6 separate regions of the Homo sapiens genome follow, and all the other regions are linked to region 5. The links are contacts of gene promoters, found by promoter capture Hi-C in blood cells and fetal thymus (Javierre and others, 2016). All regions are on one chromosome and are shown on one strand. Each heading gives the region's core, a stretch centred on a gene start or on the middle of the fragment in contact. The rest is flanking DNA. Distances are from core to core; before and after follow the strand shown.

What was found. Contacts are between HindIII fragments. The CHiCAGO score rates a contact against its expected background, and 5 or more counts as called.
Region 1: the fragment with the promoter of IDH2 here is called in contact with the fragment with the promoter of MESP1 in region 5 in 13 of 17 cell types (monocytes, M0 macrophages, endothelial precursors and 10 more); the score reaches 18.0 in monocytes.
Region 2: a contact is called between a fragment that was not itself captured here and the fragment with the promoter of MESP1 in region 5, in 1 of 17 cell types (M1 macrophages). The highest score is 6.8, in M1 macrophages.
Region 3: a fragment that was not itself captured here is called in contact with the fragment with the promoter of MESP1 in region 5 in 2 of 17 cell types (M2 macrophages and M1 macrophages); the score reaches 6.8 in M2 macrophages.
Region 4: a contact is called between a fragment that was not itself captured here and the fragment with the promoter of MESP1 in region 5, in 1 of 17 cell types (M1 macrophages). The highest score is 5.7, in M1 macrophages.
Region 6: a fragment that was not itself captured here is called in contact with the fragment with the promoter of MESP1 in region 5 in 4 of 17 cell types (M2 macrophages, neutrophils, M0 macrophages and 1 more); the score reaches 8.8 in M2 macrophages.

What each region holds. Positions count from the first base shown.
Region 1 is chr15:90,101,114-90,103,873 of GRCh38, forward strand. It overlaps IDH2 (isocitrate dehydrogenase (NADP(+)) 2), which reads right to left and starts at 1,355. Exons shown (of 11, transcript NM_002168.4): 1 at 1,163-1,355. The coding sequence starts at 1,277. It overlaps IDH2-DT (IDH2 divergent transcript), which reads left to right and starts at 1,019. Exons shown (of 3, transcript NR_149130.1): 1 at 1,019-1,265; 2 at 2,267-2,339. RefSeq lists enhancers at 1-636, 637-1,491 and silencers at 26-75, 136-225, 716-785, 1,106-1,565. The HindIII fragment of the contact is 3,688 bases long and covers 1-2,727 here.
Region 2 is chr15:90,044,496-90,047,195 of GRCh38, forward strand. The region is part of intron 1 of ZNF710 (zinc finger protein 710); the gene reads left to right. Among named protein-coding and RNA genes, the nearest start is that of ZNF710-AS1, 36 kb to the right of the region's middle. RefSeq lists an enhancer at 2,484-2,533. The HindIII fragment of the contact is 204 bases long and covers 1,321-1,524 here.
Region 3 is chr15:90,027,035-90,029,787 of GRCh38, forward strand. All of the region lies in intron 1 of ZNF710 (zinc finger protein 710), which reads left to right. Among named protein-coding and RNA genes, the nearest start is that of MIR3174, 22 kb to the left of the region's middle. The HindIII fragment of the contact is 3,216 bases long and covers 1-2,753 here.
Region 4 is chr15:90,007,817-90,010,786 of GRCh38, forward strand. All of the region lies in intron 1 of ZNF710 (zinc finger protein 710), which reads left to right. Among named protein-coding and RNA genes, the nearest start is that of MIR3174, 2.5 kb to the left of the region's middle. The HindIII fragment of the contact is 5,216 bases long and covers 1-2,970 here.
Region 5 is chr15:89,749,869-89,752,585 of GRCh38, forward strand. MESP1 (mesoderm posterior bHLH transcription factor 1) reads right to left here and starts at 1,381. Exons shown (of 2, transcript NM_018670.4): 1 at 641-1,381; 2 at 7-359. The coding sequence starts at 1,363. The coding sequence ends at 276. It also overlaps the pseudogene MRPL15P1. RefSeq lists silencers at 652-941, 1,002-1,431. The HindIII fragment of the contact is 7,264 bases long and covers 1-1,940 here.
Region 6 is chr15:90,119,858-90,122,923 of GRCh38, forward strand. All of the region lies in intron 2 of IDH2-DT (IDH2 divergent transcript), which reads left to right. Among named protein-coding and RNA genes, the nearest start is that of IDH2, 19 kb to the left of the region's middle. RefSeq lists an enhancer at 1,730-2,229. The HindIII fragment of the contact is 4,319 bases long and covers 1-3,066 here.

The DNA of each region.
Region 1 (2,760 bases), core at 105-2,604, 350 kb after region 5:
GCAGACATGCCCCTTTCTCCTTGGCAGGGAAGGTAGGACTGGGGCCCAAGCCTCCCTACCCCCCCGGCTCTAGTCAGCTGCTCCCACAATCCGGTTAACCATTACCTCCTCTGGCCAGGTCAGGGCCAGCGGGCCCCATCCCCTCTTCCTCACTCTCCTGGCTCACTGCAAGGGGCTCCTGGCCAGATTAGGATAGGGGTTTCCATGGCAACAGGCATTAGGCAGGGCCAAGGGACCTACATTGTTCCCTGCCTTTTGTAGCTGTGTTGGGTAGCCAGGGTGAGGGGGCAGGCCGATGCCCACACGCCAAGCAAGGCAGCCTGCGTTGGCAACGGAGGCTCGGGCTAAGTCTTGCTTATTACGACCCGACTACTGTCTTCCCTCCTAAGCAGGGAACTAAGGGTACCCAGAAGCCGTGGGAACGATTCCGCAAAGTGACATTTTGCGCGGGCTGCCAGGTCTCTGCGGCGAGTGAGCCAGGCAGGGAGGGCATGTGCCTGCCAAGGCAGGTCAAGTCAAGGAGAGGCCCCAGGATGGAGCCTCAAGTGCAGCGATGAAGGCGAAGGGGTGGGGGTGGGGGCGGCCAAACAAAAGGGGAAAATTAAAAAGGACGCTCCTCCAGCTGTCGTGTAAAAGGCTCCAAAAATAGCTGACGTGGGCCTGGTATCAGCGCGCGCCTGGCTGAAAAGGAAGGGGAAGTGCATGTCTCCCGCCTCCCAGCCTTTGTCTGAGCAGGGGCCGAGCCACGACCCTCCCTCTCGCCAGGGGAGCGCGCGGGGTGCTCCAGCCCCCCACGGGTGCTCGTCTCGTTCCAGGGGCGCAGGGCGGGCAGGCCACCCTTCGGGTCCGGGACACTCTCAGGACCCCCTCCCGAAATACCTAGGGGCGCGCGGCAGCCCCGAGCCCCCGCCCGCGCAGAGCTGGCCGTCGCCCGGGCCACCAGTTGCCACCGTCCCTCAAGTCCCCACCCCAGCGCCTGGCACGGCCGGGAAGCGCCGGGCGGGGGAGCGCGGAGCGAAGCTGCCCCGCGGCCCTTTGTGCGCCTGACCCCGCCGTCCCCGGGCTGCGGGCTGGCGGGACGTGCTTCCCGGCCCCAGCCTGGGAAGCCGCCACGTCGCAGCTGGGGGCGCGCGCCTGCCTGGACCCTCCGCGCGGCACTCACAGTGGCGCCGCGGCTGCTCTTGCGAGGTGGGGGCTGTCAGGGCCGCCGGCGCCCAGGCCGGCCGCGAGCCTGAGGCTCTGCAGAGCGAGCGCACGACCCGCAGGTAGCCGGCCATCCCAAGCTGGAGAGCGAACGAGCAGGGCGGGAGAGGTCCGAGCGCGCGCCGCTCCTCCCGGCTGCCTGGCCGCGGGCTAACGCTGGGCCTGGCGGGCGCTGGCCGCGCGGGCACCACCGGGGCGGGGCTGCCGGGCCTGCCGCCCCATTGGGCCTTGCCGGGGAGGAGGCGGGGCCAGGGCCGCCGACGCCTCCAGCGTCCCGCGGGAGCCGGGACCCGGCGGCCAGGCCCGGCTGGTGCTTCTCTGGGCGCCGCTGAAAGCCCAGCTCCGCAGGAGCTACAGGCGTGAGACCCACCGGGACCCGCGAGCGGGATCAGGGCTGGGGGATTAGCAGAGCCGCTTGCGAGGCTGACCCTCTCCAGGATGCCCCATGTAAACCTGGATGTCAGTTTCTGACGCTTTAGCTTAAACCCAAAAGCCAATCTGAGCGAACTCTTGCTTCCCTCGCCTGCCGGGCTGAACCCAAAGGCGCATTAGCCCAGTGCGGCTGCTTCATTCTTGAGCTAAGACCGCCGGCGGCGTCTGCGCCTCCGCGAGTCCGCTGTCAGGTCCAGCTGGTGTAGAGAGAGTTGAAATCTCACTTTGGGCCGGGCGCGGTGGCTCACGTCTGTAATCCTAGAACTTTTGGGAGGTCGAGGCAGGCGGATCACTTGAAGTCAGGAGTTCGAGACCAGGCTGGCTAACATAATGAAACCCCTGTCTCTACTAAAAATACAAAAATTGATCGGGCATGGTGGCGCGCGCCTGTAATCCCAGCTACTCAGGAGGCTGAGGCGGGAGAATCACTTGAACCTGAGAGGCAGAGATTGCAGTGAGCTGAGATCATGCCACTGCACTCCAGCCTGGGCAACAGAGTGAGACTCCGTCTCAAAAAAAAAAAAAAAAAACCACGAAAAAAGAAATATGATTGGACCAGAAGGCCAATAACCTGAGTGGGGAAACCCAGCAAGTCCTGTCCGTGTAGATTCTTCTTGACCTTTCTCTGCAGCATTCCTTCCTTCTGAGTACGGGGCAGGACTCTCTCTGGGATGGAGGGGTCTTAGGACCTGCAAGCAAACAAGGTAGGTCAGATAATTTATGGCCAGTTTTTACCCAGAAATGTGTGGGAGAAAGAGTAATATTTTTGGGTTCGATGTCTGGCTTTGGGGGAGAAGGGCTCTGGTTTCTATGACCTGCCTTGAGGAAGAAGGATTCCAGTTTCTATGGCTGGCCTCGGAGGAGAGTGAGGGGCCAAAGACAGGAGGGAGGGAGAGGGTCAGAGAGAGCTGCTCCTGAGGCCTGCATTTTGGGGTGTTGTTTTCTGAGACCCTAGAGTAGTCAAACAGCCACAGTAGAAACAGTTCCATTTTTGCCTGTTTGCATATAAAAGATGGGTTTGTTTGTTTGTTTTAATTAAAAATAGAGATGGGGGGATCTCACTATGTTGCCCAGGCTGGTCTCCAGCTCCTAAGCTTAAATGATCCTCCCGCCTCGGCCTCGCAA
Region 2 (2,700 bases), core at 173-2,672, 290 kb after region 5:
ATAAGGGGCCCGCCACCTTGGGTTTGGCAGCCTGTGTTGACACATCCTTTGTGACAGGGACACATGTGTCCCACGCATCAGAGGGATTTCAAAATGTCACCTGGGAGCTATAGAGAATTTTCACTCAGGTTTTCCTAAATTATCCAAACAGAACAGTTTGGTTTTTTCCCTGTAGGCCTCTTTATTTTTCTTTAAACCTGTGGAAACGAACCTCCTCTGAGAGCCGACATATGCTTGTCAATCAGGCATGTGCGTGTGCCTGGTTAGCACATTTACTTTACCTGTTAAAGCAGTGGCTCCTCTCCTGTGTGCATGGGTCAGTGGATAGCACCGCAGCAAGGCCAGCACTTTCTACATCCCCAGGGGCCACCAGTCACTGTGGTCTGAGGAGTAAAGGTGGCCCTGCCTACTCTTGAGGTGTGTTTATACCTGTGTAGGCCAAACCCCCGCACTGTGTCACACCTCCACATTACAATCACTGCTCCCTCCCCCAGAGTGCCTTTCTTCTGTTAGTCTGCCTGCTGAACTCCTACACAACCTACAAAACCTTGCTCAGGTGTCACCTCCCCCTTTGACTCCCCCACATAAGACTTAATCACATCTCCCTTTATCCATCTCCTGGGAGTTGTATGTCATAGCTGTCAACTCACTAAGGTAATCATCCATTTACTGTGGCTGCTGGAGGGCGGAGACTGTTGTCTTCATCTCTCTAGCTCCTAGGAGAATGGTGTGCTGTCCATGTTTGCCAGGCAGAAAAGCCTTGCAAAACCTCAGTCACTCTACAGTGACCTCAGAGCTTGAGCCTGGTCAACTGGAACAGCAGAAAGAAGGAAGCTGGAAATGGCGGATGGCTTCAAGGACGTGAGCCATGGAGAGGTTAGACAGTGACGGCTGACAGGTTTGCCGTCTGGGAACTGTTGCGGACCTGGGTAAGGGTGCAGCTCTAGTGAGGTCAACACTGAGGTGAGCGCAGAAGCCATGAGAGATGGTTTCTCTGAGGGAGTCCACTCAGGCCAAGGCCTGAGCCCAGGGGCCGCTGGGATGCAGGAGGCCAGGGAGTGGTGGTGGTGCGTGGCCTGTGAGCTCAGAGAGGGTTGTGTGGCTGCTGCCAGATGAGGAGGAGGCCCAGCTCAAAGCTCCTGTGTTTGGCAAAGGGCTGCCACCTTCCAGAGGACAGCTGAGCTCTGGTGGAGGGGACAGATATCATAGAGTAGAGCTTGAGGAGGTGATGGAGGACATAGATCTGGCCCCAGTTTAGGGGGTGGAGAGAAAACAAGAAATCGGACATTGCCAGGGTTGCAGCGGGCTGTGGTGCATGAAAGCTTTGAGCTGGAGGCCAGAGAGGGAAGAGACGCGAGGTAGCAGGGGCCAGGTCTCTTCTGGAGGACCTACCGCATGTCTCGGCACATTTCTGCCCTGTAGAAGGGGCACGTCGGGCAGCGGGCCTGGAAGACCCTGGGTACCTCCTCAAAGCACAGAAAAAGGGACCTGGTCACACTCTGGGTCCCCCAGGGCCACAGAGAAAGCTTGTGGGGCTCCCGTCCAGCCAGGGTTCCCAGGGGCCCCAGGAAAAGGCATGGTCTCTGGGGGGACACAGGGCTCTCTGCAGAAGGAAGCTACCTCTGGGAGGGAGCCCTGAGATGTCAGTGGCCTGGGCTATGTGAGATGAGGGCTCCAGGCCCAGGTGTGCTGGCACAAGCCATCAGGCCTGGAGGTGTGGCCGGCAGGACCCTCCCAAGGCAGAACCCTGTGTGCCCTTCCTCCTGCGTACCCAGCTCAGTGCCCAGCCCATAGTAGGCGCTTCATGAATGTTTGCTGAAGTGTGAATTGCATGTTGTTAGCAGATGTAGAGTGGAAACAGTACAGCTCACAGCCAAGTGCTGTGTAAATTGTAAAGCCTTATGCAAAGGGGAGTCCTATCCCTGCCCCGCAGAGCCCAGGGCCTCAGGGAAGGGGCCATATCCTCCCCAAGAAGACTAGAGGAGGGTGGAGGAGGGCGGAGGGACGAGTCAGTGCCAGGTATGGAGGGCGGCAGGAGAAGGAAGGGCTAGTGACCAAGCCAGACACCCAGACGGGTGGGGACAATGAGCCCACTCATCAGTAGTGACCAGACCCAGGTAGAGGAAGAGTGTCAGTTGGATGTGGAAATGAGGGAGGTGGATCTGAAGCCCCGTGATATGGTGCTGAGCCCCTACTATGTGCAAGTTGGGTGCTAACACCCACTTCCCAGGAGGAGGGTCTGGGGCTCCAAAGGGGTTGGGGAAAAGGCTGTCCTCCCTCTGAGTCTGGGTGACCAAGACAAGATGAGCTGTGGTGTGGGTAAAGGTAGCAGGGAGTCTGCTTATCTAGGGACGTTTGGGATTTATGCTCCAGGAAAGGGATCAAGATGGCTTTGGGGCAGGCACCATAGAGATTTGAGCCTGGGCCCAGGGGAGGAGGCCACCATTGCTCTTCCTGGCCCCACCTGCTTCTCAGCATACTGCTGGCAACCCGGAAGCTGCCAGGGCAGGCCTGCAAGGCCATCAGGTTTTTCCAGTTTGGGCAAGAACGTCTCCTTACGCCCATGAAGATGCCCACGCACAGCCACGCTGGCCTAGAGATGAAAGAGGTTCTGGGGGTGGGTGGGGACAGGACGAGGGTCCGAGTTTGAGGCAGGCATGTTTCCAGGGCCCCAGTTTCCCAGGTGGCAGGGCACCTAGC
Region 3 (2,753 bases), core at 52-2,551, 280 kb after region 5:
CAGAAACATATAAATATTATAAAGAAAGAGTAAAAGTATTAAATAACAGTAAGTACAATTTACCCTCTGCCAAATCTTAGGCTAGAGGTTTATTTCCAAAGTTTAGAACCAATAGCAAAAGTCATCAAAAAATTCAACAGATTTGACTACCTTAAAAAATTGTAACTTCTTTTTCTTCTTCTGTTTTTTTTTTGGAGACAGAGTCTTGCTCTGTCGCCCAGGCTGGAGTGCAATGGCGAGATCTCAGCTCACTGCAATGTCCAACTCCTGGGTTCAAGCGATTCTCCTGCCTCAGCCTCCCAAGTAGCTGGGATCACAGGCGTGTGCCACCAACCCGGCTAATTCTTGTATTTTTAGTAGAGACGGGGTTTCACCATGTTGGTCAGGCTTGTCTCAATCTCCTGACCTTAAATGATCCACCTGCCTCGGCCTCCCAAAGTGCTAGGATTATAGACGTGAGCCATATGCCCAGCCATTGATATTTTAATTCTACCAAGATCCTATATATAGATTAGTTTTTAAAAATCAAGATTTAAATTTGAAGGCCTTGCTCATGCCTGTAATACTAGCACTTTGGGAGGCCAAGGCAGGCTGATCATTTGAGGCCAGGAGTTCAAAACCAGCCTGGCCAACATGGCAAAACCCTGTCTCTACTAAAAATACAAAAATTAGCTGGATGTGGTGGTGTGTGCCTATAGTCCCAGCTGCTCGGAAGGCTGAGGCATGAGAATCACTTGAACCTGGGAGGTTGCAGTTAGCCGAGATTGTGCCACTGTACTCTAGCCTTGGTGATGGAGTGAGACACTGTCTCGAAAAAAAAAAAAAAAGATTTAAATTTGAAGACAATATGCACAGACGATATAATTAGCAAACAAATGCCCGACCTAAAGAAAATGCCAAATGGTGAGCTCCATGAGGCTAGGAACCAGGTCAGTTCTGCGTAACAGATACTAAATTGAGTTAATATTTGTTGACTCTATTGAATTAATATTTGTTGAAGAAATTAATGAATGCAATACAAGTTTTGAAAGTATACCATTTTTAACTTTTTAAATTAGAAGAGTTTTTAAAAGATTTTATTATGAAAGAATTTCAACTATTGAGAAAAATTGAAAGTATATAACAGTAAATACCCATACACCAATGGCTGAGATATAATAGATGTTAACATTTGCCATATTTGCTTCATCTGCACAGGTATATATATTTTTTCCTGAACCATTTTGAAGAAAGTTACAGAGCACACATCATTTCTCCCTTCAATAGTTCCGCATACAAATCCTCTGTCACCCAGAACTTAGCAATCTGAATGCAGGGTATGGGAAGCTGCTGCACTGTGCTCCAAGGGTGTCTCTGCAGATTGTCCCAGTCTCTGAGAAGGTATTTAGGAGTCACCAACATGACCTGCTGATATGTAAGAGAAAAGAAAACATGCATTTATTGTGGATCATGCCCTGTGCTGGGAGTTTACCAATGGCCTCCTGTTTAAATCCTTTTTACAATTCTGCCCATATTACAGGAAGTTGAGGTTCAGAGAGGTTAAGTAACTTGCCCCAGTTGACACAGTGTCATTATTCACCAAGTCCCTTCTGACACCATCAAATTACCTGACATTTGCCTCTTCCCTTTATCTTCTCTGTGCGTGAATGCATGGAGGTGATTTGTTGGGCAGTGTGGACAGACGGGAAGCAATCTCAATGTCCTCCAGTGCAAGAATTGGCAGGCAAATGGGGATGTGTGTGAACGGTGTGACTATGAACATGGGTGATCGATTACGGACATGCAAGATGGAAAATTGCTTGTGGCATCCAGATAAGGGAAAACAAGTAGGACACCAGATTGTATACACTGTGATCAAAACCATGTGAAAAACACATGCATGAAGAGGACTGGGAAGAAATACACAAGAAGTGGTTGCATTAGGGTGAGAAGGAGTATTCATGTTTTTCTCATCCGTCTTTTTCAAACCTTTTGTAATGGGTGGTTTTATTAATTTTATAATGGAAAATGTTAATTTAAAAGCAAGTTATTTACAGTTTAGTAAGCTCATGGCAGGGAAAGGCTGTGCTCTGTTTATTGCTCTTACTTTTTCCCAACGCCTACTCCCATGCCTGGCAATTATAGAGATAATAAATGTGGGTGTGGAATGAGTGCCCACTGGGAAACCTCTCAGAGGACTTTGACCCAGGAACATATTTGCACAGGGTTTCCCTCAGCTGGAGAAGGTTTCTCTGGGAGAGCACCAGCCAGGTGTGTGTCATGGGATATATTTACAGGGTGGTGAGCTCTCCTGGTCCAACCTAAAAGGTCCCAGCAAGGTGTAGGGGCCCTTCTGGCCATTTGACATCACCAGGGCAGTTAGTGCTGATACAAACCACAGAGAATGAACAAACTCCAACTCAAACGGGAATGGATTTTATGTCATTCTGGGACTTTCAAACTTGATAATAGACCAAGCATGGTGGCTCACACATGTAATCCTAGCACTTTGGGAAGCCAAGGTGGGAGGATCGCTTGCGGCCAGGAGATTGAGACCAGCCTGGGAAAGGTAGCAAGACCCAGTCTCTACAAAAAAATTTTTTGTTCTGTTTTGTTTTTGAGACAGAGTCTCAACTCTGTCGTCTAGGCTGGAGTGCAGTGGTTTGATCTTGGCTCACTACAACCTCCACCTCCGGGTTCCAGTGATTCTCCTGCCTCAGCCTCCCGAGTAGCTGGGATTACAGGCACATGCCACCATGCCCGGCTAATTTTTC
Region 4 (2,970 bases), core at 29-2,528, 260 kb after region 5:
ACTTTACAAGTAAGCATCTCCCCAGTTGTTCATGTAAAACATAGAAAGCATTTTCCCAAGGAAGCACCTTGTGAATAGCTCCAGGTTGCCAGGCTAGCCCATGAAAGCCTGTATCACTGTTGGGCCCAACTCATGCTTGTTTGCAAAGAAAGTAATTAGAAAACAAAACTGCTGCCGCACCAAAGGCTAAATTAAAAATTCTAGAATTGGAAAGAAGGCACTTGAAGAATTGCACCCTTAAATCAGGGAGGTAAGGTGGCAACAGGAAATTGGGGTAGATTCTGAAAGGGAGGGATTAAAGGATGTTACAGCCAAAGCACAGCCAAATATATGTTGAATCAGCAGCTTCAAAAGGTAAAACAACTGTTTTTTATTACCTACTAATTAATGTGTATGGCTCACAGACCTGACCCTTCCCCCATCCCTAGTGCCTACCCCAAGTACAGAGGCCTTTTGTCTTTTCTCTCATTCATTTTGTGTTGTTTGAATTTTTATCCAGTATGTATTATCTTTATTATATACATGTAGTATATATATATGTATAGTACATATGTGTATATATATGTATATGTGTATATATGTATATAGTATACGTGTGTGTGTGTGTGTGTATATATATATATACATATATATATATGTATATATATATACATGAAGTAAAAGAACTATTAGAAGTGGGTTGGAGGCCGGGCACAGTGGCTCATGCCTGTAATCACAGGACTTTGGGAGGCCCAGGCAGGAGGATTGCTTGAGCCCAGGAGTTTGAGAACAGCCTGGGCAACATAGTGAGACCCTGTCTCTACAAAAAAGTTTTATAAATCAGTCGGTGGCACGTGTAGCTGTAGTCCCAGCTACTTAAGAGACTGAGGTGGGAGGATCGCTTGAGCCCAGGAGGTTGAGGCTGCAGTGAGCTATGATGGCCTCAGTGTACTCCAGCCTGAAAACCCTGTCTCAAAAAAAAAAAGAAAAGAAGTGGGTTGGTCTCTTTCGCAATCACCATTGTAAAGGATTTTCTGATATTAAATACATATGCTCTATTGTGTGTTTATTTCTGGGAGAACTAAGAAAACTGTTGGAAATGTGAGGATTTTTAGTGTAGTCGGAAGCTGAGAATAAGTGATCATATTGCGACCCAACTATTTTCCCTTTCTTCTTTCCCTGCCCCCAGCATGTTATATATATGGAATCGAAATGAAGTTAGAATGGTCACTACAGAAAGCAGGAATGTCCACCCTCCGCATTTAAATGGGAAACTATAACTTTTGTGATAACTCTTGGTTATGTGTGTTTTTGTCTTCTGGATGGTACCTGAAATGCCATCCCGGACCCCATCCCGTTCTCGGTGGGACTGCAAGGATATGGGCTTCCAGACTGGGAAGACTGTCCTGCATGTGTTTGGTAAAAGACAACGGCTAAAACCTGGGGCACATCAGAATGTCCTCGCAAGGACCAAGTCCAAGCTGGCCCCTTGAGAAGCATCAGGTACCCTTTGGAAGCTGGTAGTGCTGGTCAGTTTAATCTCACTCTGTGATGTCCGATCCTCGGGCCCTGGGCTCACAAGCCATCGCTTCCCATCGTGGCTCCATTCTGTAGCTGCAAATCACAAGACTGTAGACTTGCCATTACCCAGAAGCAGGTCACCTCTGAAATTCAGAACTCTTCCTGTCCTCCCACTACACAGCACTCCTTGAAGCAGCCCTGCCCACCCCTGCCCCAACCTGGGAAATCTGTGCCCACTTCCCTGGTCCATTCCCCATGTGCCCACCATCAGCCCCACTGCTTGTTCCTCTGTGTCCTGCCCTGGCTTCCTCCCTAGGTCTGGGCACCCCACATCCTCCTATGCCTTAATTCTCTACCTACAGCTACAGTCACACCTCTCTCTCCCTCCCCAACCCCAACCTGTGTCACTTCTCTTTACCCTAGGATTTCACAAAGAAGAGTCCACTCTGTCCCCACTTCCTCTCTCCCCCTCTTCTCCTTGCCAGCTCAACAACAGTGGAGCGTTTCAGCCCAGCCCACTCTCACTCCAGCTGGCTCTCCTAGAGGTCCCTGGCCACCTACTCATGCCCAGTGGCCCATCTTGTGTGACTTCCTCTTACCTGACTGCCCGGTGGCCCATCTTGTGACTTCCTCTTACCTGACTTCTCCATAGCAGTTATTGTCATGAATAGTCTTCTCCACCTTGGGTCTGGCTCATCACTCTGGGTCCTTTTCCTACCTCTCTCATCTGTTTTTTTGTACCATTCTTTCCTGTTGCTATGCTTTGGTGCCTTGGCCACAGTTCATTGCTACTTGCTTACCTACCATGACTGTGGTTTCAGCCTGTATAGGACTCTTGGCCTATGATCCCTGTCCTCATGTCTCCTGTAGACAGCCTAGGGCTGGATTTCCTTTTGTTTTTAATCTAGTCTGATATCTGTGCTCTTTAACCAGAGAGTTCAAGCCATTTGCATTTGTTATGGTTTTGGAAATAGATGGATTTCTTTTTTTTGAGACAGGGTCTCACTCTGTCACCTCGGCTGGAGTGCAGTGGCAGATCTCAGCTCACTGCAACCTCCGCCTCCTAGGCTCAAGTGATCCTCCCACCTCCGCCTCCCAAGTAGCTGGGACCACAGGCATGCACCACCACAGCTGGCTAATTTTTATTTTTTTTATTTTTTGTAGAGATGGGGTTTTTCCATGTTGCCCAGGCTGGTCTTGAACCCTGAGCTCAGGCTATCCACTTGCCTCAGCCTCCCATAGCGCTGGGATTACAGTGTGAGCCACCGCACCTGGCCAAAACAGGATGCAGATTTCTTTCTACCATCGTATTTGGTGTTTTCTATGTGTTCTTTTTCTGATTCTTCTGTTCATTCTTTTGAATTGATTGAAAGATTTTTTTCTTTCCTTCAGTCCGTTTTTTCTCTACTGCTTTGAAACTCATATACTCTTTTTAAAAATTTTTTATTTTTAGAGAAAGGATCTTGCTGT
Region 5 (2,717 bases), core at 131-2,630:
GCCAACTGACACCAGTACAGTTTATTCACAAATAAATAAATTCACATTAGGCAGAGCCTCCTGCTTGCCTCAAAGTGTCTAGCCCTATGGGTCCCTCCATGGAGGGAGGGGCTGAGAAGGGCCGCCGCGGTGGGGACGGCTCTCACCCGCAGGAATGCCCCCGTCGGGATCGCCCGTGCCCTCTTCCAGGAAAGGCAGTCTGCCAAGGAACCACTTCGAAGGTGCTGAGGCCAAAAAGCCTCGGTGCTCACAGAGACGGCGTCAGTTGTCCCTTGTCACTTGGGCTCCTCAGGCAGCCACTCCAGAGGCGAGAGGGGCATCCAGGTCTCCAACAGAGCCAGCACGTCGCCCGGAAGGAGCTGTAGGGAGAGACGGAACAGCGCAGCCCTCAAGCACTGGTGGCCTTGTGCGGGTGTCCGCGCTCGTGGGCTCCACTCTCAGGGGGCCCCTAGCGAGGGGAGACCCAGTCCTCTGCGTGGCCTTTCCCTGCCTTCGCTTCTTGGAGCCCTGGGCATACTATGGTGGCCAGGTGGCCAGGCTGCCGGCGGGGAGCAGCAGGGTGCCTGGTCCTCACCTTGGCGGGCGGTGGGGCTGTGCGCGGGGGCACGGACGAAGGGGGCGCGGGGAAGGGGACACTAACCGGGGACGGTGGGCTTGGCTCCATCGCCTGCCCTTCAGGGCACGCCGCCTCGGCGAACAGCGCAGGCGGGTCGCGCGGCTCGGGTGCAGCTCGGGCTCCGGGGCAGGCAGGCGGGGATCCCCAGGACGCCCCGGCGCGGACGGCGGATACCAGGCCCAGCCCGCGCCCCTGCCCCTGCCCCTCAGCCTGCGTCCGTGTCTGCATCTGCGCGGGGCAGTCGTCGGGGCACAGCGGGCAGCCCCGAGGGGACCCCGCGTCACCGCGCTGCCGGCACCGGCGCTGGAGACTCTCCTCGCTGAGGCCTAGCACGGCCGACAGGTGGCCGATATAGCGGATAGCCAGGCGCAGCGTCTCGATCTTGGTCAGGCTCTGGCCCGCGGGCGCCACGGACGGCGGTAGAAAGCGGCGCAGCTCGTGCAGGGCGCGGGCCAGCGTGCGCATGCGCAGTTTCTCCCGCTCACTGGCGCTCTGCCTCTGCCCGCTGCCCAGGCGGCTGCTGCGCGCGCCGCGCCTACCTACGGAGGGGGCGCGGGGGTCCCGGAGGGTGCCTGGCCGCGCGGGGCTCGCCACGGGGCTGTCGGCTGGGGTGCTGCCCCATGAGTCTGGGGACGAGACGAGGGAGCGGCCGCAGTCCTTGTCGGAGGGCGGCGGCCGCCGAGTTGGGCCCCAGGCCGCAGAGAGCATCCAGGACTCGGAGAGCGGCGGGCACAGGGGCTGGGCCATGGCAGCGGCGGCGCGTCTGGGGGCCGGCGGCCGGCGGCCGCTTTATGCCGAGCCCGAGGTGTGAAGTGGCCCCTTCCAGGCCGCATCAGCACATCAAAGTGGGCTCGGGGCTTGGAGGGGGCGGAGCCTGACCCTTTGAATCCACGGCGGGGGGCCAAGGTGCCAGCCCCTTGACTGCGCCTGTTTCGCCCCACCTGGGCCCTCGCTTGGGCGCCCGACCCAGCCTCTCGGCCTTCCCGCCTGCGCCCAGTGTTGGGTGAAGCCCGGGGCGTTGGGCCAGCCCTGCAGGTTAAAGGAAGCGGGGTCAGAAAAACGAAATCTAGATCCTAGGTTTGGGGCCTGCCTTCACCTGTTGGGGACCTTATGCAAATTCTTAGTTCTTTTGCACCTTAGCTTCCAATTTGTATAATGAGAGCCTCAGGGCATGCGCCAATTGGACAGTGGAGTAGAGTAAGGACCAGGAGCAGGGACCCTCATTCCCTCTAAAGGTGGAGAAAACAGTAAACCACTTCTCCTTTGAGGCAGGATGGCCCTGGGTAGACCCTTCCCTGGTAAGAACATGTGGACAGTGCAAGGAAGCTTGCACCCCGGCAAATTCAATAAGCTGCCGAGTCTGGTCAGGATGCTGGACCTTCTGAGCAGAGGGAGGGGGTTAAGCCTGCTCCAACCCCAGGCCACCTCTAGCCTGGCAAGGTCTGGAGCTTGGCCTGTTGCCACAGCTGTCACCACTGGCCTTTACCTGATGTTCTGCCGCTATTGGACAGGTATAACAGGTTTTCCCAATGAAATGTGAGTGGAAATGACGCAGCAAAGGCATTTGACAAAATCCAACACCCTTCGTGATGAAAATTCTCAGCAAACTAAGAATAGAGAGGAATTTCATCAACCTGATGAAAGGCTCCTACAAAGAACCTACAGGTAGCCTCATACTGAGTAGTGAAAGACTGAAATCTTCCCCCCACCCCCCGATTGCAGGAACAAAGCGAGGGTGTCTCTCTTACCACTCCTATTCAACATTGTACCAGATGGAGGATCTAGGCTATGCAATTAGGAAACAAAAGACATACAGGTCAGAAAGGAAGAAATAAAACTCTTTTCGCAGGTTATGGCAGCTCTGGGCCCTGCTGCGCATGAGCCTGACCAATTTAAAGCGGAATCCTGGCTCCAGGAAACCCATGAGACGACCAAAAGGTCGGAGAAGAGGTAGAAAATGCGGCAGAGGCCATAAAAGAGAAAGGCAGAGAGGAAACTGGCTCTGCTGGGCTTTGGGGATGGCCAGACTCTATTTTACATCGGAATCCCAAAATACAGATTTAATGAAGGACTTAGCTTCAGACACCAGTATCAACCTTTA
Region 6 (3,066 bases), core at 152-2,651, 370 kb after region 5:
GGGTCTTCCTATGTTGCCCAGGCTGGTCTCAAACTCCTGGGTTCAAGGGATCTTCCCACCTCAGCTTCCCAAAAGTGCTGGGATTACAGGTGTGAGCCACCCAGCCATGCCAGTTTCTTTACTCAGCATTGTGTCTTGAATTTCACTCCTGCCTCCTGGGTTCAATTTCCTAATAACTGAAAGGTGTCATTCAACAGGTCTTTTAACAAAAGTCTGTGAGAATTAAGTTTCTCTGTTTCAACTTGTTTTATTTTACTCTCACTGCTAAGGTCTAAATGTCTCACAGAATTCATGTATTAAAATTTAATGGCTGGGCCAGGCGTGGTGGCTCACACCTGTAATCCCAGCACTTTGGGAGGCCAAGGCGGGCAGATTACTTGAGGTCAGGAGTTCAAGACCAGACTGGCCAACATGGCAAAACCCCGTTTCTACTAAAAATACAAAAAAAAATAGCCAGGAGTCATGGTGCATGCCTGTAATCTCAGGTACTCTGGAGGCTGAGGCAGGAGAATCACTTGAACCCGGGAGGCGGAGGTTGCAGTGACCCGAGATCCTGCCACTGCACTCTAGCCTGGTCAACAGAGCAAGACTCCATCTCAAAAAAAAAAAAAAAAAAAAATCAATGGCCAGTGAGATGGTATTAAGAGGTGAGGCCCTAAAGGCTGAGACAGGAGAGTCGCTTGAACCTGGGAGGCGGAGGTTGCAGTGAGCCAAGATCGCGCTGTACTCCAGCCTGGGCGACAGAGCGAGACTCCGTCTCAAAAAAGAAAAGAAAACAACATTACCTGCAACCCAGAAACCATCCTTAAGTTCTCTCTTAGACATTATTTTTCCAAATTCCCCAAAGGTCACTACTACTATCCTAACTTCTACTAAAATGATTGATTTTGCCCATTTTTATTTTTGTGTAAATAAAGTCATACAGTATATACTCTGTTGTGTCTTTTTCTCAACATTACATTATAAACTTCATTCATGTTTTTGCATGTAGCTGTAATTTACTAATTCCGTTGCTATCTAAAGTTGCATTTTATGAACCTGCCATAATTTATTTCTACTATTTGCATTCTACTATTGATGAACATCGGGTGTTTACAGTTTGGGGCTATTACTAACGATGCTTCTATGAACGTTCTTACACTTATCTTCTGTACATATATACAAAATTCTGTGGAATAATACTTATGAGTGAATTACTGGGTCATAGGACGTACACATACATATATAAAGTGTTCAGTTTTAATAGACACTGCCAACTTTTCAAATTGATTGTCTAATTTATATTCTACCAGCAAAGTATGAGAGTTTCAGTTTCTCTACAGCACTGATAACAGCATTGTCATTCTTTTCAGCTTTAGTTATTCTGGTGGGTGTAGTGGGAGCTCAGTGCGATTTTTAAATTGCATTTCCCTGGGGACTAATGAGATTGAGTTCCTTTTCATATGCTTATTAGCTATTTGGATATTCTCTCGTGAAGCACCTGTTTCAAATCTTTTGCCTGTTTTTCCATTGGCTTTTCTGCTTGTTTGTGATTTGTAGGAGTTCGATATACATTTTTTTTCTTTTTTCTTTTTTTTTTTTTTTTGACGGAGTCTCGCTCTGTTACCCAGGCTGGAGTGCAGTGGCGCGATCTCAGCTCACTGCAACCTCTGCCTCTCAGATTCAAGCAATTCTCCTGCCTCAGCCTCCTGAGTAGCTGGGATTACAGATGTGCACCACCACCCCCAGCTAGTTTTTGTATTTTTAATAGAGACGGGTTTTGCCATGTTGGCCAGGCTGGTTTTGAACTCCTGACCTCAGGTAATCTGCTGCCTCGGCCTCCCAAAGTGCTGGGATTACAGGCATAAGCCACCACGCCCAGCCTTGATATACATTTTGATATGAGTCTCCTTATTTATGTATTTATTTATTTATTTTGAGACAGAGTCTTGCTCTGTCACCCAGGCTGGAGTACAGTGGCGTGATCTCAGCTCACTGCAACCTCCATCTCTCAGGTTACTCAAGTAATTCTCCTGCCTCAGCCTCCCAAGTAGTTGGAATTACAGGCACACGCAACCATGCCCAGCTAATTTTTTTTTTTTTTTTTTTTTTTTTTTTTGGTAGAGATGGGGTTTCACCATGTTGGTCAGGCTGGTCTCGAACTCCTAACCTCAAGTGACCCACCTGCCTCAGCCTCCCAAAGTGCTGGGATTACAGGCATGAGCCACCACGCCCAGAGTCTCCTTTTTGGATGTATGTGTTGCAAATGTCCTCTTACTCAATGGCTTGCTTTATTTTTTTAACACATCTTTCGATGCACAAAAACTCTTAATTTTAATGTAGTCCAACTTATTGACCTGAGAAAAGAAAAATAGCTCAGAACAGTCTGAGCTATGTGAAATTGTATACAAAATTGATCAGGCCCAGAGAGACTTGAGTATGGGACTTCAGTCACAGCTCCCCAGGCCCTCCCACATTCAGGCCTGGGGCACCTGTTTAAAGGCCTTTTTTTTTTTTTTTTTTCCTTATCTGTTATCTTCATGTCCTGGAATTCCTGATACAAAAAAAATCAATGGATAGCCAATCAATAGCTTATATTATTTTAATGTAAATTCTTGGTAGACCATTTAGGGACTGCTTCTCCTTTTTTCCTTTAAAAACCCATCTGTAAATATTGCTAATTGGAGCATTTATTCAGGGCAACTTGAATCTGTGCTCCCAGGTTGCAGTCCTCAACTTGGCCCAAATAAACTCTCTATTTGTATAAATGATTTTCCCTCAGTTTTTTCCTCTAGGTCGACATATCTTTTGTTTATTTGTTTGTTTGTTTGTTTTTTGAGATGGAGTCTTGCTCTGTTGCCCAGGCTGGAGTGCAGTGGCATGATCTCAGCTCACTGCAACCTCTGCCTCCCAGGTTCAAGTGATTCTCCTGTCTCAGCCTCCAGAATAGCTGGAATTACAGGCATTTGTCACCACGCCCAGCTAATTTTTATATTTTTAGTAGAGACAGGGTTTCACCATGTTGGCCAGGCTGGTCTCAAACTCCTGACCTCAGGCGATCCACCTGTCTTGGCCTCCCAAAGTGCT